Regions from separate parts of the Homo sapiens genome. Here region 1 is linked to region 2. The links are contacts of gene promoters, found by promoter capture Hi-C in human tissues and cell types (Jung and others, 2019). All regions are on one chromosome and are shown on one strand. The core of a region is centred on a gene start or on the middle of the fragment in contact, and the rest is flanking DNA. Distances in the headings are between cores, read along the strand shown. Region 1 holds the start of HSP90AA1 (heat shock protein 90 alpha family class A member 1). Region 2 holds the start of YY1 (YY1 transcription factor).

Region 1 (5,469 bases), core at 1,428-3,927, 1.8 Mb after region 2:
CATATAGATCACTTCTAAGCCATGTTTCCGAAGACGTTCCACAAAGGCTGAGTTAGCTACCTGGTCCTTGGTCTCACCTGAGGTATTACAAAGTTACTTTTAGACCTTTTAACAGTTAAGAATGGTTTCATCTAGCTCTGACTTTTCTTGCTAGCCAGATACCTAGGCAGAACCTAAGACAGAAAATGACCTAGTTCATGTTAATTATCTTGCCTAGATCAATACCAGTTGTAACAGTGCTACCTGAGTAGAAAACACACCCACAGAGCCTACAAGATTGTAAGAACGACGTGTATGACTGTAACATAGTGTTCTCTTACCTGTGATATAATAGATATGTTTCTGGTTCTCCTTCATTCTGGTGCAGTAGTCCTTGAGAGAAACCATCTCATCACCAGAGGCAGATGTGTAGTACCTTAACAGCTCTGAAAGCTTCTTCCGATTTTGAGAGTCTTCGTGTATTCCAAGCTGAAACAAAGTATGTTCTTTACAAAGACTTTCTGAATTAAAAAAAAAAAAAAAAAACTAAAGAGGCCAATTGGAAAACTAATGGTTATTTACACCAACCTTTATGTTTTTAGAGAACTGCTCATAGAATTTCTTGTAGTTCTCTTTATCTTCCGCCAGTTCAGTAAAGAGTTCTAAGCATTTTTTGACCAAATTCTTCCTGATAACTTTCAAAATTTTGCTTTGTTGCAACATCTCACGGGATATGTTTAGAGGGAGATCCTCCGAGTCTACCACCCCTCTAATGAAGTCTGAAAAAAATATAAACCAAATGCACTGAGTCATTCCAAGGACAAAACTGGTACTATGTAAACTCCCAAAATCAAAGATAACCTGAAGATGATGGGACGTATTTTTGAGACAGTCTCACTCTGTTGCCCAGGCTGGAGGGCAGTGGCGCAATCTCCACTCACTGCAACCTCTGCCTCCCGGGGGGGTTCAAGCTGTTTTCATGCCTCAGCCTGCCACTACATGGGGCTAATTTTTGTAATTTAGTAGAGATGGGGTTTCACCATGTTGCCCAGGCTGGTCTTGAACTCCTGACCTCAAGTGATCTGCCCACCCCGGCCTCCCAAAGTGCTAGGATTATAGGTGTGAGCCACCATGCCCACCCAGAAAGTACTTCTTTAATCAGTGACAGTGATTATTTTTCCTATCTATACTTACTCAGATATTCAGGGATTAGCTCCTCACAGTTATCCATGATGAAAACTCTGCGTACATACAATTTGATGTTGTTCTTTTTCTTTCTGTTTTCAAACAGATCAAAAGGAGCACGTCGTGGGACAAATAGAAGGGCTCTGAATTCCAACTGTCCTTCAACTGAAAAATGCTGTAATAAAACAGATACACTAAGTACCAATGAACAATGCATTATAGAAGATATTTGGGGTGGTGGAGAAAGATGATAATCTAAGGACAAGCTTGAAGCACCCATCAGTCACTCACCTTCACTGCCAAGTGATCTTCCCAGTCATTGGTCAAGCTCTTATAGAATTCTCCGTACTCCTCATTAGTAATATCGTCGGGATTTCTGGTCCAGATGGGCTTTGTTTTGTTGAGCTCTTCTTGATCGATGTACTTTTCCTTAATCTTCTTCTTCTTCTTCTTGTCACCATCCTTCTTTTCTTCTTCCTCATCAGAACCAACATCTTCAATTTCAGGTTTGTCTTCCGACTCTTTCTCTTCTTTTTCTTTTTCTTCTTCTTTGTCTTCCTTTTCTTCAGCCTCATCATCGCTTACTTCTTTATCACGTTCCTTCTCCACCTTCAAAAGAAAACACGAAATCACATCACTGCTGCACTCCAGAACTAAGCGACAGCGCTGCACCACTATTTTCAACCTAAGGCCCAAGTCTAAATTAGCCAACTTGAGAAGCACCCAGCTTTTCATCAATATTTGATACATCCACTTAATAGCCCGAGGAACTTTTACAGAGTTAGGTAGTAGAGCTTAGGTTCCCCAGGCTTCAGACTAGTTGAACAGATCTAGGGACTAAGGATGTAGTACAGTCACCCCAATCACCTACAGACAGAAATTCACTCTGCAATTACATAAAAACTTACAAAAAGAGTAATGGGATATCCAATAAACTGAGAATGTTTCTTCACAATCTCCTTTATTCTTCGTTCCTCCAAGTACTCAGTTTGGTCTTCTTTCAGGTGTAGGATAACTTTTGTTCCACGACCCATAGGTTCACCTGCAAGAGAAGAAAGAAAAATTGACTTAATACATTCAATTTAGTGCTCAACGCCATGCCTAACACCCTTATAACGTGTCTATAAAGCAAGGTTTGCCGTTACTACAGATGCAAAGGCCACCACAGCAGAACCTTTTGGGCAAGGTGCCTCGCCCAAAAGAACCGCCCACCAAGTCATGCCATTACACTAATTAAGTGCTCTAGCTTGTTCCTGATCGTTGGGCAAACACAAATTCTGTAAGCTTCACCGCATCCCCAGGGGTCCAAGGGTTGCAGCACCCCACCCTTCCACCGCTCACTTAACCAGTGAATGTTCAGGTGCCTACCTGTGTCTGTCCTCACTGTGAATGATCCCCCTGCTGAGGACTCCCAAGCGTACTGCTCATCATCGTTATGTTTGGTGATCACAGTTACTTTCTCAGCAACCAAATAAGCAGAATAAAAACCAACACCGAACTGGCCAATCATAGAGATATCTGCACCAGCCTGCAAAGCTTCCATGAACGCTTTGGTCCCAGACTTGGCGATAGTACCAAGGTTATTGATCAAGTCAGCCTTGGTCATTCCAATTCCAGTATCCACAATAGTGAGAGTTCGATCTTGTTTGTTCGGTATAAGGTTAATATGCAGCTCTTTCCCAGAGTCTAATTTACTGGGATCTGTCAAGCTTTCATACCGGATTTTGTCCAATGCCTGTTAACAAAAAATATTAATTTAAGCATACAGCACCCCCAAGAAGTTCACACTGAAACCAAAATCCGATTCTGGGTTAATAAGTGACTTACATCTGATGAATTTGAAATGAGCTCTCTCAGAAAGATCTCTTTGTTCGAGTAGAAAGTATTGATGATCAATGACATCAACTGGGCAATTTCTGCCTGAAAGGCGAACGTCTCAACCTCCTCCTCCTCCATCGGTTGGTCTTGGGTCTGGGTTTCCTCAGGCATCTGGAACGACACCGCGCCGGTTTAAAACCTTGCAGGACGTCTACAGAGGCAACACGAAATTCCATCGCGTTCTCCAAATATTTTTAAAGCCGAATTGGAGATTTGCGAAGTTTAAGTAAACCGAAAATAGAAGGGCGGCTGACAAAGGATGACCTCATTTCGGAGCGCGGCAACTACCACGAGCGTGTGCGCGCTTCCGGGAGGCCGCCGCAGGCCCGGGCCCAGTCCCCCGCCGCGGTCCCCAACGAACACCCCGGGTGCCCTCCCGCGCGGGCTGCGGCTCCGCCACGGCGGCCTCCTCCGCCTGCGCCCCCAGCGGGGCCGGGCGGGGGACCCCCGCGGCGGGGCCGCTCTGTTCGCGTGCGGCGCCAGCTCTGGCGCTGCTGCAGAGCCTCGGGGAGCCCGCGGCCGCCCGGCCCATTCCTGAAGCGGGGTGCGGAAACCGCAGCGGTCCCGAGGCCTCCGGAATAGAAAGCGCGGCCGCCCGGGAGCGCGGCCCTGGCTGCTTCAGGGATCTGGTCCGGCCCCCACAGCCTCCGCCCCGCGCCAGCCGCCCCCAGTCCCGGTCCCCAGTCCACCTCCACAGGCCCCCACAACCACCCGTCACCTTGGCTAAGTGACCGCACAGGACCAACGGCACAGCCACACCGGGACGCTGAAGCAACTGACGCGCCACCCCCGCGCCTGCCTTATATAGCGACGGGCCCGCCCAGCGCGCGGCGCTTTTTCCAGAAGCCTCCCGAACCTTCCGGAAGAACCCTCCCCAGCCGCCGCCGCGGCCGCGCGCCTACGCATGCGCCGTTGCCGCGGCACCCCGCCCCCGCGCCTTCCTGCGGGCGCGCGCAGGCCCTGCTCGTGGCCCGGCCCGGGCAACCTTCCCTCAATCGCCGCCGCGCGCCTCTCGCACGCCCCCGCGCCGGCCTCAATGCGCCTGCGCGGCCCGGAATTCTCGGGAAGGTCCGGGCGCCTTCTGGGGCCGCCCGCGCCCTCCGCCCTGCACCCCCACCTGCCGCGGGCGGGCGGAGGGCACGCCCGGGCGTGGGGGCCTTTGAAGTGAGGTGTAGTTGGTCACCCGGGCTGAGCGGAACGCGGGGCCGGGGTGGGAGGCGCGCCTGGAGGGAGGGTCGTGCGTGGACGGAGAGCGGCCCGGGTCTCACGCGCCCGGGAGACTTCCGGAGCCGTCGTCCTGACTGGCGCCGCGCCCGCTGCCAAAGAATCCAGCCGCAAGCGGCGCCGGGATCGCGGGGCTCTGCCCTCTGGGGGCTGTTAGCCTCAGGCTGCTGCGCACTGGGGAGGCTGTCCCGCGGCCTGCGCGCTCGGGGATTCTCCAGACCCACCGCTGGCTCGGGAGCGCTCCCTACTTTTGGGTTCCCCGAAAGCCATGTGCTTCATACTTAAGGGTCCCTTAGCTTGGGAATCGGGGACTTGGTGAACAAATTCATGCTTACCCAGCTACACCCGGCATGATTTTGAAAAGCCCATCGTTTTGCCGACCGATTTGCGGTCTCCAAATTAAGTATCTAACACTTTGGTGATTAACTTGCCCTAAAAGGTTTTTTTTTTTTTTTTTTTCTTTTTTTTTTTTTTGGACAGGCTCTCGCTTTGTCGCCCAGGCTGGGGTGCCGCGGCGGAATCTCGGCTCACTGCAGCCTCGACCCTCCCGGGCTCAGGTGATCCTCCCGCCTCAGCTTTCCCAGTAGCTGGGACGAGCGTGGGCAGAGGACCACAGGCGCGGACACCACACCTGTCTAGTTTTTGTATTTATTTGTAGAGTCGGGGTTTCACCATGTTGCCCAGGCTGGAAAAGCCAGTTTCTACATGGGAATTTTCGGATATTTTGGCCAAGGCCAGCTGTGGGAACCTTGGAGGCATTGGGGTTCCTTCGACCTGGCTTCCCTGCCTAGTCCATGTCCTCTTCCTCTTTGTCTCTGGCGCCTCCCATGATTGGGCCGCCTCCTGCCTAGACTCATAGCCAGGCCCTCGGAATAATCTGAAAGCTCCTTGCCGTGTAAAGAAACGATGGAACTACCTCCGCTTCCTGGTCTTTAGGGAAACGCAACTTGCTCAGGAGCAGGGGTTTTCAGACTGCGGCCTGGGACCCCCTTAAGAGCGTGTGAAATCAACATAAAGCGTCTTGCCTGGCATTACAAAGCGGGGGAAGTGGAAGGAAACTAGCAGCCACGTGGCGCGGGCCCCAGCGGTGGTGACCGGGTGTGTGCCTGGTCCTGTGGTAGCTGTTGCGCAGCCTGGGGGCGCGCCCCCGGCCCAGGCTTTCCTACAGCTGCAGCCTGGACTGGCGGGGAGGAATCCGGAAGC
Region 2 (5,506 bases), core at 2,237-4,736:
AGCCTGGCCACCCATGGCAATACCCCATCTCTAATAAAAATACAAAAATTAGCCAGGTGTGGTGGTGCGGGCCTATGGTCCCAGCTACTCGGGAGACTGAGGCAGGAGAATCGCTTGAACCCGGGAGGCGGAGGTTGCAATGAGCCAAGATTGCGCCACCGCACTCCAGTCTGGGTGACAGAGCGAGGCTCCATCTCAAAAAAAAAAAAAAAAAAAAAAAAAGCAAGCTTCACGTACAAGGCATCACTTCATGCACAAGGCACTGAGCTGACAAAGCCATGGCCTTTGCTCAGATAGGGTTGAGAGACAATAATCAATTATTGCCAAAATAAAAGGACTCTAGGAATTCAGAGGGAATCCCAATGCATTTTGTACAAACAGAACAGAATAAAAGTAGGGAGGCTAGGTGCACTCCAGCACTTTGGGAGGCCAAGGCAGGAGACCAGACTGGGCAACAGAGCCCTTAAAACCTCATATCCAAAAAAAAAATTTTTTAATTAGCTGGGCATGTGGTGGGGCACCTGTAGTCCTTAGCTCTTTGGGAGGCTGAGATGGGAGGACTGCTTGAATCCAGAAGTTCAAGGCTGCAGTAAGCTATGATTGTGCCACTGCACTCTAGCCTGGGAGACAAAGCTAGACCCTGCCTCAGAAAAACAAAAACAAAAAAACCCACAGCAGTTAAATTTATCCTCACTTTTATTACTATTTTTTAGAGACAGAGTGTCACTCTGTCACCCAGCCTGGAGTGCAGTGGCGCGATCTCGGCTCGTTGCAACCTCCGCCTCCTGGTTTCCATTAACTCACCTGCCTCAGTCTCCTAAGTAGCTGGGTCTACAGGCGTGCACCACCACGCCCAGCTTATTTTTGTATTTTCAGTAGAGACGGGGTTTCACCATGTTGGCCAGGCTAGTCTGGAACTCCTGACCTCAGGTGATCCACCTACCTCAGCCTCCCAAAGTGCTGGGATTATGGGTGTGAGCCACCACGCCCAGCCTATCCTCACTTTTAGAATCCCATGATTCTGAAACTGCAATTTGACCTGTCCTTTTAAAATAATTTTTACCTTTAGCAAGTGCAAGCAAGCGAGAGCCACACGACACATTATCTTTGCATGTCTAGTCATAAGATACTCCACCGTTAAACAGTAGAAAACAAGAATATCTCCCACTAGAAAAACTTAAGGCCTAACAGGTCACCTCCTATGGGGCAAGTTTAAAAAGCTATTTTCTGGAGCAGGTACTAGGATGGCCTTCAGGAGCATTTTAGTGCTTTCTGACCTACTACCTTTCCTCAAAGCTTTCAATCCTTTTGGGCTTTCTCCACTTGAATGTGAACACCTACAGATCTACAGCTCAGAAACCAGGATGCTTAATGGGTAATTCCCTCATTTCTCTTGCTCTCACAATTGGTGTTTATGGGGAAGTATCAACTACTTGCAGTGCCATTTCCCCATCAATTACTAGAGAGTGGGGAAAGTGAAATTTAAAAAGCATTAAGACATGTAAAAGTTCTCCCACAACTGGTTTCCATTCATGAAATATTTATGCAGAGTTTATAAGCTATAAAGCCAGAGATGACTTAATTCAACAGATTTGACTTTTCCAAACTGAGTGGGTGCAGTACTCCAAGGGGAATTATTCAGGTTTCAAAGCTCAGATTCAAAGAGAAAACGATCTAATTTGTCACTCCTTACACTAATATTCTCAAAAGTCAAGTCCAATGCGATTTAGCAATAAGAAGGGACTAGGATTTATAAAGTTGCCTTTTAATGAGAATGTATAGTCTACTTGTTTTAACAAGTTGAGCCTAAGATTAATGTATTGCGTACAGTTCAGAAAATCATGGGCCTCAACTGCATGAACACTATTACAAAACAGTAAATGTTGATAATATTTAAGTTGAACAAATTCACAGAGGCGTTAAATCGGCCAAACGAGTACAACAAAGACACACCTTTCCAACTCTTCAATTTGTCATAGTTTCCTTAAAAATCAGGAAATCTTTGTTTTGCTTTAAGGCAAATTGTCAGGTCGACCAAAAGGACAGATAAGAGCAGAAACACTTCGCTGCAATGTAACTCATTCAGGAAGGTTTAACTTGCCGCTAATCCGTGCCACAAAAAAAAATCTAGGCTCTGTTGCAGGTACAATGGAGGACACGGCTGAAAAAATTTGGAATTTTAAATGAGACAAATGCAAAACCTGGTGGGCGTAAAAAGGAGCACCTATGAAAGTGACAAATAGGGGGAAAGGGTGGGCAAGGGAAACAATGGCTGACTGGAGAGCAAAGAAGGGGAAGCTCAGGAGAAAATTTTAGAAAGCCGCCAGGACCCTGTAGTTCTAAGATCTACGGGGAAACAGGCACCCAACGGCTGCGTCTCAGGTTTCCGCGGGTCACTAAAGAATAACGGACATCCTCCCAACGGTGGCCCTGGGGCTCCGCGGGCGCTTCCGCCGAGCTCGCGCCGACCCCGCGCTCGGCCCCGCACCCCGCCGGGCGCTCGCGGCGAGATACCGGACGCTGCCCGCGTCGCCCGATTTTGTCCGTTCGGTCCTCCACACTCACCCCGCGGCCATCGCTCGCCCGAAGCCAGGCGACAAGAACAAACACCTCCCGACGCGAAAAAGGAAGCACAGGCGATTCTCGTCAAAGCAGACTTTATTGGGGCGACAGGGCCGCCCCGCACGCGCCAGCCGCTCCCCGCGCGGCCCCCGGGCCGCCCACCCGCCTCAACCCCGCTCCCGGCCGGCCCCTCCCTCCCTTCTCCTCAGGCTCCCGCCCCCGTGGTGCCCGGGGCCGCGCGGACCGCTCACCGGCTCCCAAGGCAGCGGCTGTAGCGGCGACGCCCCGTTCCCGAGTGCGGCCCCGGCCCGAGGCGGCGGGTTTTGTGGCTGTTGCACCGCGAAGGGCGGCAGCCGCGCGACACCGGGAAGCGGGAGGCGGTGGCGGCGGCGGCGGCGCGCTGACGTCACGCGCCGCGGGCCAGCCAGGGCGCGTGCGAGCCGCCCCGCCCCCGGTCCCATCGGCCCCAATCCGGGAGGAGCCCGGCGAGTGGGCGGGGCCGCGGAGGCCAGCGGACAGATCGATTGGCCGAGAGGAGAATCGAGAGGGCGAACGGGCGAGTGGCAGCGAGGCGGGGCGGGCTGAGGCCAGCGCGGAAGTCTCGCGAGGCCGGGCCCGAGCAGAGTGTGGCGGCGGCGGCGAGATCTGGGCTCGGGTTGAGGAGTTGGTATTTGTGTGGAAGGAGGCGGAGGCGCAGGAGGAAGGGGGAAGCGGAGCGCCGGCCCGGAGGGCGGGAGGAGGCGCGGCCAGGGCGGGCGGTTGCGGCGAGGCGAGGCGAGGCGGGGAGCCGAGACGAGCAGCGGCCGAGCGAGCGCGGGCGCGGGCGCACCGAGGCGAGGGAGGCGGGGAAGCCCCGCCGCCGCCGCGGCGCCCGCCCCTTCCCCCGCCGCCCGCCCCCTCTCCCCCCGCCCGCTCGCCGCCTTCCTCCCTCTGCCTTCCTTCCCCACGGCCGGCCGCCTCCTCGCCCGCCCGCCCGCAGCCGAGGAGCCGAGGCCGCCGCGGCCGTGGCGGCGGAGCCCTCAGCCATGGCCTCGGGCGACACCCTCTACATCGCCACGGACGGCTCGGAGATGCCGGCCGAGATCGTGGAGCTGCACGAGATCGAGGTGGAGACCATCCCGGTGGAGACCATCGAGACCACAGTGGTGGGCGAGGAGGAGGAGGAGGACGACGACGACGAGGACGGCGGCGGTGGCGACCACGGCGGCGGGGGCGGCCACGGGCACGCCGGCCACCACCACCACCACCATCACCACCACCACCACCCGCCCATGATCGCTCTGCAGCCGCTGGTCACCGACGACCCGACCCAGGTGCACCACCACCAGGAGGTGATCCTGGTGCAGACGCGCGAGGAGGTGGTGGGCGGCGACGACTCGGACGGGCTGCGCGCCGAGGACGGCTTCGAGGATCAGATTCTCATCCCGGTGCCCGCGCCGGCCGGCGGCGACGACGACTACATTGAACAAACGCTGGTCACCGTGGCGGCGGCCGGCAAGAGCGGCGGCGGCGGCTCGTCGTCGTCGGGAGGCGGCCGCGTCAAGAAGGGCGGCGGCAAGAAGAGCGGCAAGAAGAGTTACCTCAGCGGCGGGGCCGGCGCGGCGGGCGGCGGCGGCGCCGACCCGGGCAACAAGAAGTGGGAGCAGAAGCAGGTGCAGATCAAGACCCTGGAGGGCGAGTTCTCGGTCACCATGTGGTCCTCAGGTGAGCGCCGGCCGCGCGCCCCGGCCCCGGGATGTTTTTGTTTTGAAGGGAAGCCATGTTTTATGTGTGTGATGGGCGCCGCCATCTTCTTCGCCAGGGCAAGTATGGCGGCCCCAAAAGATGGCGGGCCGTGCGGCGGCGGGGGCGCGGCGGCGGCGGCGGGCGGCGGGCCGCGAAGATGGCGGCAGGCCGCGGGGGGGAGGGGCCGGCGCCGCCCGGCTAGGCCGCAATGGCGTAGTTTCTCCGAGAGGGGGAAGCGCCGCGCGGGGCGGAGACGGCCGGGGGAGGGGCCGGCGCGCTCGCTCCCCGACGCCCTCGCTCCCCGCGCCCGCATCAACGGGCGCGCCCGCCGGCCCGTTGTGGCGGCAGCTGCGCGCCCCCGGCCCGGGCGGGACGCGGGAGGTCGTTGGCGGGGCTGCGCCGCGGCCTCGCGGGCCAGGGATTGCTGCCTCCGGGACGCGCGCCCCCGCCCCCGCCCGGCGCTGCCGTTACCCCATCGGCCGCTGGAGGGCGCCGCGGGCGCTTGCCCCGCCCGCCCCCAACTTCCCCGGACTCCCAACTGCTCCCCGGTGGCACCTTCCAGAAGGAGGGGGCTTGGCACTCGTGGGCGCCCTCCGGCCTCCTTGCTCCCCGCCCACCCAGCGCCGGGCTGGACCCTGCCCCGGCGGTCACGCTCGCCCAAGTCGTCGTTTGCTGCGGGGCGGGACTTGGGGCTGCACGTAGGGCTCGCGTGTGCGGGCTCCGAGCGTCAGTCGGAGCCTGTCACCGCCGTTGCCAGCGAATTCCTGGCCTTTTCGCCTTCCTGCGGTACCTAGTGGAAAGGGCCTGTGAATGTTAGCGAATAATTCTTAGTCACTTACGTTTTGGGAAAGCTTTTTTTTTTTCCCTCAAGTATTTAGCTCTTCTGAATAGGTTGGGTTAGTTTACTCAACTGTGGACATTTGCCAGTAAATAAAATCGGGTAGTTTAATTTTAAGCCTTTATGGTTTTTACTTTGTAGAAAGGTATCTATTTTCCCCATGAAAAGAACGATAATAGAAAGCGGGTTTTTTTGAGTTTTGTTTTACTGTTTTAATACTACTTTTAACGAAGGCCTGAAAACCATCTAGAGCAAAAGGATCTTATCTGCCTGTGTAAAATCTGTTTTTACTTCAAAGGCAATTATTAATTCAATGCTGGTTTTTTAGGTCAGTATCCTATTAGTATATTCATATGCTACCTAGCTAAATTGCTGAGATAC

What was found. Contacts are between HindIII fragments. The study calls those that stand out against the background at their distance.
Region 1: a contact is called between a fragment that was not itself captured here and the fragment with the promoter of YY1 in region 2, in 1 of the 25 tissues and cell types used here (hippocampus).

Annotation. Positions count from the first base shown.
Region 1 is chr14:102,083,226-102,088,694 of GRCh38, forward strand. HSP90AA1 (heat shock protein 90 alpha family class A member 1) reads right to left here and starts at 3,819. Exons shown (of 11, transcript NM_005348.4): 1 at 3,761-3,819; 2 at 2,992-3,153; 3 at 2,533-2,899; 4 at 2,073-2,206; 5 at 1,456-1,773; 6 at 1,174-1,339; 7 at 568-758; 8 at 321-468; 9 at 1-77. The coding sequence starts at 3,153. RefSeq lists an enhancer at 495-1,694 and silencers at 3,407-3,696, 3,737-4,266, 4,327-4,376. The HindIII fragment of the contact is 5,167 bases long and covers 95-5,261 here.
Region 2 is chr14:100,235,658-100,241,163 of GRCh38, forward strand. It overlaps YY1 (YY1 transcription factor), which reads left to right and starts at 3,487. Exons shown (of 5, transcript NM_003403.5): 1 at 3,487-4,266. The coding sequence starts at 3,588. YY1-DT (YY1 divergent transcript) reads right to left here and starts at 2,964. Exons shown (of 2, transcript NR_189150.1): 1 at 2,814-2,964. RefSeq lists enhancers at 2,549-3,401, 4,239-4,398 and silencers at 2,639-3,238, 3,299-3,378, 3,529-3,598, 4,089-4,138, 4,409-5,088. The HindIII fragment of the contact is 4,615 bases long and covers 762-5,376 here.